Linked DNA regions of Homo sapiens: region 2 is linked to region 1. The links are contacts of gene promoters, found by promoter capture Hi-C in human tissues and cell types (Jung and others, 2019). All regions are on one chromosome and are shown on one strand. Each heading gives the region's core, a stretch centred on a gene start or on the middle of the fragment in contact. The rest is flanking DNA. Distances are from core to core; before and after follow the strand shown.

Region 1 (5,324 bases), core at 2,785-5,284:
AGAGATCATCTGGGGTGTAGAGGGTGTCATCATTTTTGTTTTCCTACAGTTCAGGGGTAAGGAGGAGAATCAGATCTTGGAGGGAAAGAGGCTGACCCTTCCTCAAACACACCCCCTACCACGCCCCATCAATTGGCCCACCCCGTCTGCTGGCTCTGCTCCCCACTCGCTGGTATCTTCAGAGGGCTGCAAGGAAGTAAAAAGGCTCCCTCCAGCAGAGGGGCGGGCGTTCCTAGGCCCTCCCAGGGCTGTACAAGCAGGAGGATGATCCACAGAAGCAACATGGGCACCTTGCTCACTCCCAGGCCTTCTCTGGTGCTTGGCCTGGGGTTCTGGAAGAGAGAGGTACAGGAAGGGGGAGCAGACTGGAAGGCTGAAGTGGATGAGGGGAACTCCCCCGCCACCCCTCATCCCATCCCCTGCTTGCTCCACTCAAGCCACAGATAATTCAGGGAGTGTGCCCATAGAGGCTGGGGAAAGATGGTGACCCCAAAGTCAGGAGGGCTTAGGTCAGAGCGCTCCCTGACTCCCAAGCTCAGGGACGATACGAGACTTAGCAAATGTGTGAAGATCAATCTGGAGAGACGAGAGAACCTGAACTCCCCTGCCCAACAGGCCCTTAAGACAGTGCAGGCTAGGCCAACCGCTGTGGCTCACACCTGTAATCCCAGAACCTTGGGAGGCCGAGGTGGGCGGATCACTTGAGGTAAGGAGTTCAAGACCAGCCTGGCCAACACGATGGAACCCTGTCTCTACTAAAAAATACAAAAATTAGTGGCCAGGCACAGTGGCTCACACTTGTAATCCCAGCACTTTGGGAGGCCGAGGCAAGTGGATCACTTGAGGTCAGGAGTTCAAGACTAGTCTGCCCAGCATAGTGAAACCCTGTCTCTACTAATAAATACAAAAATTAGCTGGGCATGGTGGTGCATGCCTTTAATCCCAGCTACTTGGAAGGCTGATGCAGGAGAATTGCTTGAACCCAGGAAGCTGACGTTGCAGTGAGCTGAGATCAAGCCACTGCCCTCCAGTCTGGGCGACAGAGCGATACTCCATCTCAAAAAAAAAAAAGAAAAATTATTAGTCAAGCATAGTGGTGGAGGCCCGTGATCTGGGCTACTCAGGAGTCTGAAGCAGGAGAATCTGTAATCTCAGCTACTCCAGAGTCTGAAGCAGGACAATCACTTGAACCGGGGAGGTGGAGGTTGCAGTGAGCTCAGATTGCATCACTGCATTCCAGCCTGGGTGACACAGACTCTATCTCAATTTAAAAAAAAAAAAAGAAAAAGTACAGGTAGAATGTGTGCATCCTCTCATCTGCCTGTGTCTTCATTGGAAAACACCTGTGCTAGCCTTTATCTGTGTCTGCAAGTGAATATTTGAGGTCTCTGCTCTATTTATTTTATTTTATTTATTTATTTTTGAGACAGAGTTTATTTATTTATTTATTTTTGAGACAGAGTCTTGCTCTGGCGCCCAGCCTAGGGTGCAGTGGCGACATCTCAGCTCACTGCAACCTCCGCCTCCCGGGTTCAAGCGGTTCTCCTGCCTCAGCCTCCCTTGTGGCTGGGATACAGGCACCTGCCACCATGCCCAGCTGATTTTTGTATTTTTAGTAAAGGCGGGGTTTCACCATGTTGGCCAGGCTGGTCTTGAACCCTGGGCTCGAGTGATCCTGCTGCCTTGGCCTCCCAAAGTGCTGGGATTATAGGTGTGAGCCACTGCACCTGGCCTCTGTCTCAAGTATTTTGGAAACATCATGCCTGCCTTTATCTCTTTTTTGTCTGAGGGTTGGCCTCTCTGCCTCTAAATCTGTCACTGGGCTTGTTTTGGGGGTCCATCTCTTGACTGTCCTGGTCTCTCCCTTTTCTCCTCCTCTTCTCCCTTGGCCTTTCATCTTTCTCTTCTTCTCCACTTGTGCCTACATTTCTTTGGGCTGTGTCTGTGTCCCTCCCGGTCAGCCTCTGGGTACTTCCTTCCTCCCTCCCAACAGCCCCCTCCCCCCTCACCCTTTTAGAGCTGGACTCCGGGCTGGCTTTTCCCTCTGGCCCCAGACCTGCCCTCCAGTGTCTCCCTGTCTCCACCCTCTTTGGCAAGGTGCACCACGACGCCCTTTTGAACCCTGGATCCCAGACCCTGTACTGCCAGAGAAACTGAGGCAACTGTGGGCTCCCTCTAGCTCTGAGAGAGGAACCTCTTCGCTGGGGAGACTCTTGATGGGGTGAGACGCAGGGACATCTGCCGGGGAACCAGAGGACAACCCAATCCTGGGGTTCCTCAGGTGGGGTTGGGGGGCTGGGGATGGAGAATTCTGTGGGGAGGAGGCTTAAGTGGAGGGTGATTTGGGGGAGAGGAAAAAGATGACTGGGAGATTCTGGAGAAAGAGATTCTAGGGGCTGGGCGCGGTGGCTCACGCCTGTAATCCCAGCACTTTGGGAGGCTGAGATGAGTGGATCATTTGATGTCAGGAGTTCGAGACCAGTCTGGCCAATATGGTGAAACCCCGTCTCTACTACAAATACAAAAATTAGCCGGGCGTGGTGGTGCATGCCTGTAATCTCAGCTACTCAAGAGGCTGAGGCAGGAGAATCGCTTTAACCGGGGAGGCAGAGGTTGCAGTGAGCAGAGATCATGCCACTGCACTCCAGCCTGGGCGACAGAGCAGGACTCTGTCTCAAAAAAAAGAAAAAAAAAAAACAAAAAACAGAGAGATTCGGCCGGGCGTGGTGGCTCACGCCTGTAATCCCAGGACTCTGGGAGGCTGAGGCGGATCACATCACCTGAGGTCAGGAGTTCGAGACCAGCCTGGCCAACGTGGTGAAACCCCATTTCTACTAAAAATACAAAAAACGACCAGGGCGTGGTGGTAGACGCCTGTAATTCCAGCTACTCGGGAGCCTAAGGCAGGAGAATCTCTTGAACCCGGGAGGCGGAGGTTGCAGTGAGACGAGATCGCACCACTGCACTCTAGCCAGGGCAACGAGCGAAACTCCGTCTCAAAAAAAAGAGAGAGATTCTAGGGTGGGGACGGGGAAGAGGTTAATTCTTGGGGGAGGGTCTCTTAGGAGAGGGGGATTCTAACGGAGGGAAAACTCCAGGGAAGGCAGTTGCTGGGAAGAGGAGTCTCGGAAGGGAAATAAACTCAGGAGAAAGGTAGATTTTGAGGGACGGGTCTCTGAGAGAAAAGTTTTTGTGGATTTGCGGGGCGGGGTGTTCTGGGAAAGGGGGATTTGCCGGGAAAGGGGGATTTGCCGGGAAAGGGAGATTCTGGAGGAGGGAGATTCCAGGGGTACTGGGTCCTGACAAGAGAAAGATTCTGGGAAGGGTGACTGAGGGGACGAGGACCGAATGGAGGGAGATTCAGGGAAAAGGGGGGTCTAAGTTGAGCACTCTTAAGAGGGACATTTGGGGTTGGCCATCTGAGAGAAGGATGGGAAACATTCTGGGAAGAGGAAACTGAAAGGAAGGACATTCTGGTGAAAGGGAGATTCTGAGGGGAAGGGGCTCTGAGGGGAAAAGGATTCTGGGAGAGGATCCCCAAGGAGGGGGATTCTAGGGAGGATAGGATTCTGGAAGTCCTTAATCTGAGAATCCAGCCAGATTTCTTGCAGTAGATTCCAAAGGAAGATTCTGATGCGGGGGATTCGGGGAGGAGGGAGTCCAGAGGGGAGAAAGATTACAGGTGTTGGGAGGGTGGGAACTGATTTAAAGAAAGGGCGAAGGGAGATTATTAAAGAGCCAGAATGCAAAGAAGAGCTGCGGTAGTCGACTACAGAGGACGCGAAGCACACTCCCGCAGCCTTCCCTTCAGTCCGCACACGACACTCCCAGGCCCCGCCCCTTCCGCCCACAGAGCCCGCCACTTCCGCCTCACAGGGCCCGCCCGCTCTGAGCGCCTAAGGGCCTTCCCGCCGCTGACCAGACGCCCCGCCCGTTAGCCGCAACAGAAGCCGTAAAGCTCTCTCCCGTCGCGACGCAGTGCTCAAGGCGCCTGCGCAGACCCTGAAAAGCGGCCAGGGTGGCCCCTAGCTTTCCTTTTCCGGTTGCGGCGCCGCGCGGTGAGGTTGTCTAGTCCACGCTCGGAGCCATGCCGTCCAAGGGCCCGCTGCAGTCTGTGCAGGTCTTCGGACGCAAGGTGAGCCAGACGCCGGATGGGAAGGGGAGGGGAAGGAGAAGGCCAGGGTCTGGGAGAGGTCGGTGGGCAGGAATCTAGGGGGTAACATGGGAGCTGGAGCCGGAGCTCACGGGGCCCCTGTTTCTCTTGTATCTTACAGAAGACAGCGACAGCTGTGGCGCACTGCAAACGCGGCAATGGTCTCATCAAGGTGAACGGGCGGCCCCTGGAGATGATTGAGCCGCGCACGCTACAGTACAAGGTGCTGGGATCCGGCACCGGCGTTGAGTGGATGGAGGACTCTTGGAGACAGAGATGTTGTAGCTCTTGAAAGCTGGGGGGGCTGGCATCAGCAACGGGATGTTTAGAAGTTGTGTTGGGTGTAGAACAGTGGGGTATTTGGCAATAGAGCTGGGCTTGGGGTTCAGAAGATGTAAAAGCTGAGATGGGGTTGTTGAAGATTAAGGGTTTGCTTTGAGAACTGGGATGTTAGGAAGCTCACCTCACTGGGGCGGGGGGACCCAAAGGGTGAAGGGACACCGACTATTTTTTATTTTATTTATTTGTTTTGAGAGGGAGTCTCGCTGTGTCGCCCAGGCTGGAGTGTAGTGGCGCGATCTCGGATCACTGCAACCTTCGCCTCCCGGGTTAAAGCGATTCTCCTGCCTCAGCCTCTTGAGTAGCTGAGATTACAGGCATGCACCACCACGCCCGGCTAATTTTTGTATTTTTAGTAGAGACGGGGTTTCGCCATATTGGCCAGAGTGGTCTCGAACTCATTACCTCAGGTGATCCACCAGCCTCGGCCTCCCGAAGTGCTGGGATTGCAGGCGTCAGCCACCGTGTGCGGCCGAATTTGGGTCTGTTTAAATGCTTGCTTGTAAAAGGGGTTCCTCTGTTCCCTTTTTGGGACTCTCAATTTCTTTGGCTCAGAATGGAAAGAAACCAGAGTCTGATTTCTGCCCCTTCTGAACTCTACTACTTTTAAAAGAAAGAATATCTACATTGCAGGGTCAGTTAAAAAAATTTTTTTTGAGTTATAAGGTTCTTTTTTAAAAACAGTATCTTGCTGTCACCTACCCTGGAGTGCAATAGCACAATCCTAATGAACTGCAGCCTTAAACTCCTGAGTTGGAGATCCTCCCACCTCAGCCTTTCGGTTGCCAAGACTACAGGCACATCACCACGCCTGGCTCATTTGAGAAATATT
Region 2 (4,993 bases), core at 630-3,129, 540 kb before region 1:
AGGTGCAGTGGGGCTCAGGCCTGTAATCCCAACACTTTCGGAGGGTGAGGCGGGTGGATCGCCTGAGGTCAGGAGTTCAAGACCAGACTGGCCAACATGGTGAAACCCTGTCTCTACTAATAATACAAAAATTAGCCAGACTTGGTGGTCCATGCCTGTAATCCCAGCTACTTGGGAGGCTGAGACAGGAGAATCGTGTGAACCTGGGAGGTGGAGGTTGCAGTGAGCCGAGATCATGCCATTGCACTCCAGCCTGGACAAGAGCAAAACTCTGTCTCAAAACAAAAAACAAACAAACAAAAAAAACATAGATATACATATATATATGTGTATATATATATATATGTATGTATTTCTACCTTTCGATCAGTCAAAATACTCTGAAGAACATTGCACTGCACTGCCCTGCCTTGTTTGCTGCTGCCTAGCACATGGTAGGAAATAGTTGTTAAGTGGACAGATGAATGAATGAGGTGTCCTTAGCACACCTGTGGTAGAGCCCACGATGGCTGTATTCTGATCCACAGCCTCCAGAAATTGTCCGATGACCAGCGGGATGCTTTGGATTCGCTTCACCTCCTCCTGGGCATGGAGAAATTCCTTTTTCAGGTTCTTTTGCTCATCTTTGATGTATTCCTCCTGCACCTCCAGGAACTCCAGCTCTTGCTGCAGCTTCTGCGAGCAGAGAGGGGACAGAAGGGGATGGCTCCAGACTTGCTGATCCAGAGAGTGGTGGAAAGTGGGGAAGAGTATGAGATGTCAGGTCCTGTGCAAGGTCTGGGTTGGGGGTCGAATGTACCTTGTAGCGGCTGTACAGGTCCTCCAGGTCCTCAGGCTCAGGGCCCAGGAAGGACAGGCCGGTCTGGGGCCGGGACACGGACAGTGCTGGGATCTCATCCTAGACGAAAGGGGATAACTCACATTGGAAGAAGACAGTCCTCTCATGAAAGCTTCCCAACTTCACTAATGTTTGTTCCCCTCCCCACTTCACCCTGATGTCACTTAGCCCCTAACAGACCCCTGATATCTTAAGACCCTCTAAATAGATCCTGGAAACCTTTTGGCCACCTAAACAAGCTCTTTATGTCAACTTGCCCCTCAAACAGATCTTATGTTATCATATACCACTCATAACATGTCCCCAGTGTCACACAACCCCCAACTAGGATCTAAACGTCACATCAACTCCTTATCAGACCCAAATGCCACCCAATCCCCTTCAAGAGGTTCCTAATGTCACATGGCTCTCCTAGATAGGCTGTTAAAGTGACTGCGCCTTCAACGAGTCCCAACATTCCCCAGTTTCCCCTCAAAGATCCCTTATGTCACAGTCTCCTAACTCACCTTAGACCTAAATATCACTCAGGCAAGCCACAGATAATACTTAACTACCCGCCCCATTACCCCCATCAGCAAAGCCCTGAACATCAGTCAGCCCCGCAGCCCAGACCCGGGGATCACTCGGCCGCACGGCGGGATCCCATATATCACTCACCGCCTGACCCAATCCCAACGCCGGGCCACCGACCTCACTAAGCACTACCGGCCAGGGTTCGAAATCAATCCGTCTCAAAGACCCACTAACGTCACTCACTCCCCCAGCCCCGCTTTCTGAGCCTTACCTCCTACCATCACTCGGCCACCCAGACAGGCCTTCGAATGGCACAAAGCTCTCCACCGAGGCCTCTAAAATAACCCCAACCTGGGCCGGGGTCCTGGAAGCCATTCCTCCCCCCACTCAGGTCTGGCTTCACCCTCTCCCCGCGAGCCCGGCCCGGACTAAAAAGCCCAAGTCCCCACTGTACCTGAGCCTTCTCCACCAAGATGCCTATCTCCTCCATAGTGACCAAGCCGGCCTCTGTGTGGCCTGGGATGATCTGTCACCGCTTCCGCTGACGACAACGGAAGTCCCTGGCTGAGGAGGCTTCTGGGAAGTGTAGTTTAAGTTACGGCTGAGAGGTGCTGGAAGGGCAGGATAGGACGAAGGGCTGGTCTGGGCTCCGCCCTCAACATAAGCTCATGCGCTGTCCGTACCCGCAGGCGCGAGGGCGGGACGGGAGCTGTGGGCGTGCGCAGTATCACGCGGTGGCGCCATCTCGCCCTGCCGTGGAGGGCTGGGGGTTCTCTCCGGGAGGTGGCGCAGCCCCGTTGCTCTTTCAACGGAGTAAGTTCGCAGAGCTCTGGCACGGACAGTCTGGCGGCCAACTGCTCTTCGCTTTCTAGTGTCTGGGCTGGAGGGTCCTTGAGCTGGGTTCCACAGAAGGGATTGATCGTACGGGCGGGTAAGGTCTCCACGTGGCGCTGATCCAAAGATTGTGCGCCGCGCGGGCGTGGGAAGATCCGAGCTGCCCCTGAAGGTGACATTTCATACTGGGCTTTACCCCGGGATTGAGGAGCCCCGAGCCCGCAGTGAGCAACCAATCGAGTAGAACCCACGCGTCTGGGCTGGGGAAAAGGAGGCAGCGAGTGCCCAGAAGTTGGGTAGCACAGGAGATCCATAGACCTTAGTTCTGTATCCCAGGTTTCCGCCTTACAGATCTATGCCAGGTCCTGCGCTTAAGCTTTACAGGCATCATCGTCGCAAGTATTATGTTTCCTCATTTATAGAGAAGGAGACAAGCTCAGAGCCACGAAGCCACCAGCCACAGTCAACAATGTGCCGAAGGGACAAAGCATAGATTGGGACCCAGGTCTGTCTGTCCCCAAAGCCTGTACTCTTGGCCCCAGGGAAACACTGCTACCCTTCACACCAGCTACAATTTTTGTTAAGTAAACCTTTTATTGAAGTTAAATAAAGAGAAGAGCACAAATCATTACAGCTCGACAAAATTACACAAAGTGAACATGCCCATACAACCTGAATCCAGATCGCAAAACCAAACAGTAGAAGCCTCATGTGCTCCCCTTTCCCCCATCCCTTCTTCTCCCCCCTCCACTCCCCGCCCCGAGACGGAGTCTCACTCTGTTGCCCAGGCTAATATTTGTATTTTTAGTAGAGACAGGGTTTCACCATGTTGGCCAGGCCGGTCACAAACTCCTGACCTCAAGTGATCTGCCTGCCTTGGCCTCCCAAAGTGCTGGGATTATAGGCGTGAGCCACCACATCCGGCCTCCCGATCCCTTCTAAAGGTTATCATTCATCTGTTTTTTTCTTTTTTTTTTAAGAGCTAGAGTCTCTGTCGCCCAGGCTGGAGTGCAGTGGCACGATCATAGCTCACTAGAGTCTCCAACTGCTGGCCTCAAGCTATCCTCTCTCCTCAGCCTCTGAAAGCACTGGGATTACAGGCATGACCCACCCCATGTAGCCTTTAAAAATATATCTTTTGAAAGAGATTCTTGCTCTGTTGCCCAGGCTGGAGTGCAGTGGTGAGATCACTACTCACTCCAGGTTCAACCTCCCAGACTCAAGCAATCCTATACCTCAGCTTCCCAAGCACCTGGAACTACAGGCGTGTGCCACCACGCCTTGCTAATTTTAAAATGTTTTTTGTAGAGATAGGGTTTCGCTGTGTTGCCCAGGCTGGTCACGAACTCCTGGACTCAGATGATCCTCCCACTTCAGCCTTCCAAAGTGCTGGGATTACAGACATGAGCCACTGTGCCTGGCTGGACTCGCCCTGACTTGTAACAGCTGGGTTACTTTTGTTTGTTTTGAATTCTCCTTCTCTCTAGACCAGTACTCTGTGTACTGTGTTTGGTTTCTTTTAGTTAATGTTGTTTTTGTGAGATTCATGCATACCGTGTGTAGAAATAGTTCTTTCATTTTCATTCTGGATGGTTTCCATTTTATGACTATGCCCTATACCTCAGACTGGATATTTTCCAGTTTAGGGGTGTTATAGTGCTATTGTTACTGGGGGTCCTTGTTCTTAGAGCTCCCAAGATGGTGGTGGGCCGCTTCCAAGATGGCAGTAAGTCTCTTGTTCTCTGACCTGGGGTTCTTGGCCTCACGGATTCCAAGGAATGGAATCTTGGGCCATGCGGTGAGTGTTATAGCTCTATTCAGCTCGATTAGGAGGAACCCCGGGCACTTAGCCCGCGCAAGAACAATGGTGAGCCTCTAGCCCAATTGGGAGCGGCAATGGGTGCCGCCTCGCTGGATCAGAAGTGCAGTGGACACCCGGATCCGGAGGGGTGGAAGTCAGCGGCAGGTCTGCCACAGCTGCCATGGCAGCAGACAGCAGCGGTGGACAGTGAGCGAAAGCTCAGCTCAAGCCATAACAAACACAGACCAGAAGAGTGTACAGTTGCAAGGTTTAATAGAGTGAAAACAGAGCTCCCATAAAATGGGAGGAGACCCAAAGGGGATTGCCTTGCGGGCTCCAGTGCTGGGTTATATCCCGCCGATCATTGTCCCTCTCTCTGTGCTCTCAGGCGTTAGATGATTGGCTATTTCTTTACCTTCTGTTTTTGCCTAATTCGCATTTTAGTGAGCTCTCTTTACTACCTGATTGGTTGGGTGTGACCTAAGTGGCAAGCCCCTTGTTTAAAGGTGGATGCGGTCACCTTCCCAGTTGGCTTAGGGATTCTTAGTCGGCCTAGGAAATCCAGCTAGTCCTGTCTCTCACTATGAATATTCTAGTACATTTCTTTGGACAAACTTACGTATTCATTTCTTCTGAAAATAGATCCCCCTCCCAAAGAAAAACAAAAACAAAAACAAAATAGACCCAAGTGTGGAATTGCTGGTCGTAGGGCAGGTATGTGTTTAGCTTTAGTAGACACTGTCAGACTGTATTAATTTACACTCCCACCATTTGTATGTATACTCTTGATATTTTGTGTGTTTGGACATTGTTTTCTATTTGGTGGATGGATCATGGGTTGTCACACGAGACACCACTTGCGCATTCACTTTTGGCCAGGAAAATTCCAAACCATGATCTCATAACAGCCCTCAGAGGTAGGTTTGCTTTTCCTCATTTTACAAATGAAACTGAGGTGCAGACAGGGGAAAGCCACTTCCATTAAGTTACAAAGAGAATTGGTGGCT

Evidence for each region. Contacts are between HindIII fragments. The study calls those that stand out against the background at their distance.
Region 2: a contact is called between the fragment with the promoter of PSMC4 here and the fragment with the promoter of RPS16 in region 1, in 1 of the 25 tissues and cell types used here (lymphoblastoid cells).

Annotation. Positions count from the first base shown.
Region 1 is chr19:39,434,659-39,439,982 of GRCh38, reverse strand. It overlaps RPS16 (ribosomal protein S16), which reads left to right and starts at 4,034. Exons shown (of 5, transcript NM_001020.6): 1 at 4,034-4,135; 2 at 4,275-4,376. The coding sequence starts at 4,088. RefSeq lists enhancers at 1,829-2,597, 4,261-4,840 and a silencer at 3,781-3,880. The HindIII fragment of the contact is 40,426 bases long and covers 1-5,324 here.
Region 2 is chr19:39,968,051-39,973,043 of GRCh38, reverse strand. It overlaps PSMC4 (proteasome 26S subunit, ATPase 4), which reads right to left and starts at 1,879. Exons shown (of 11, transcript NM_006503.4): 1 at 1,806-1,879; 2 at 800-898; 3 at 489-675. The coding sequence starts at 1,841. LOC124904720 (a long non-coding RNA gene) reads left to right here and starts at 2,073. Exons shown (of 3, transcript XR_007067260.1): 1 at 2,073-2,164; 2 at 2,608-2,690. RefSeq lists enhancers at 916-1,595, 1,620-2,009, 2,510-2,559. The HindIII fragment of the contact is 6,535 bases long and covers 1,757-4,993 here.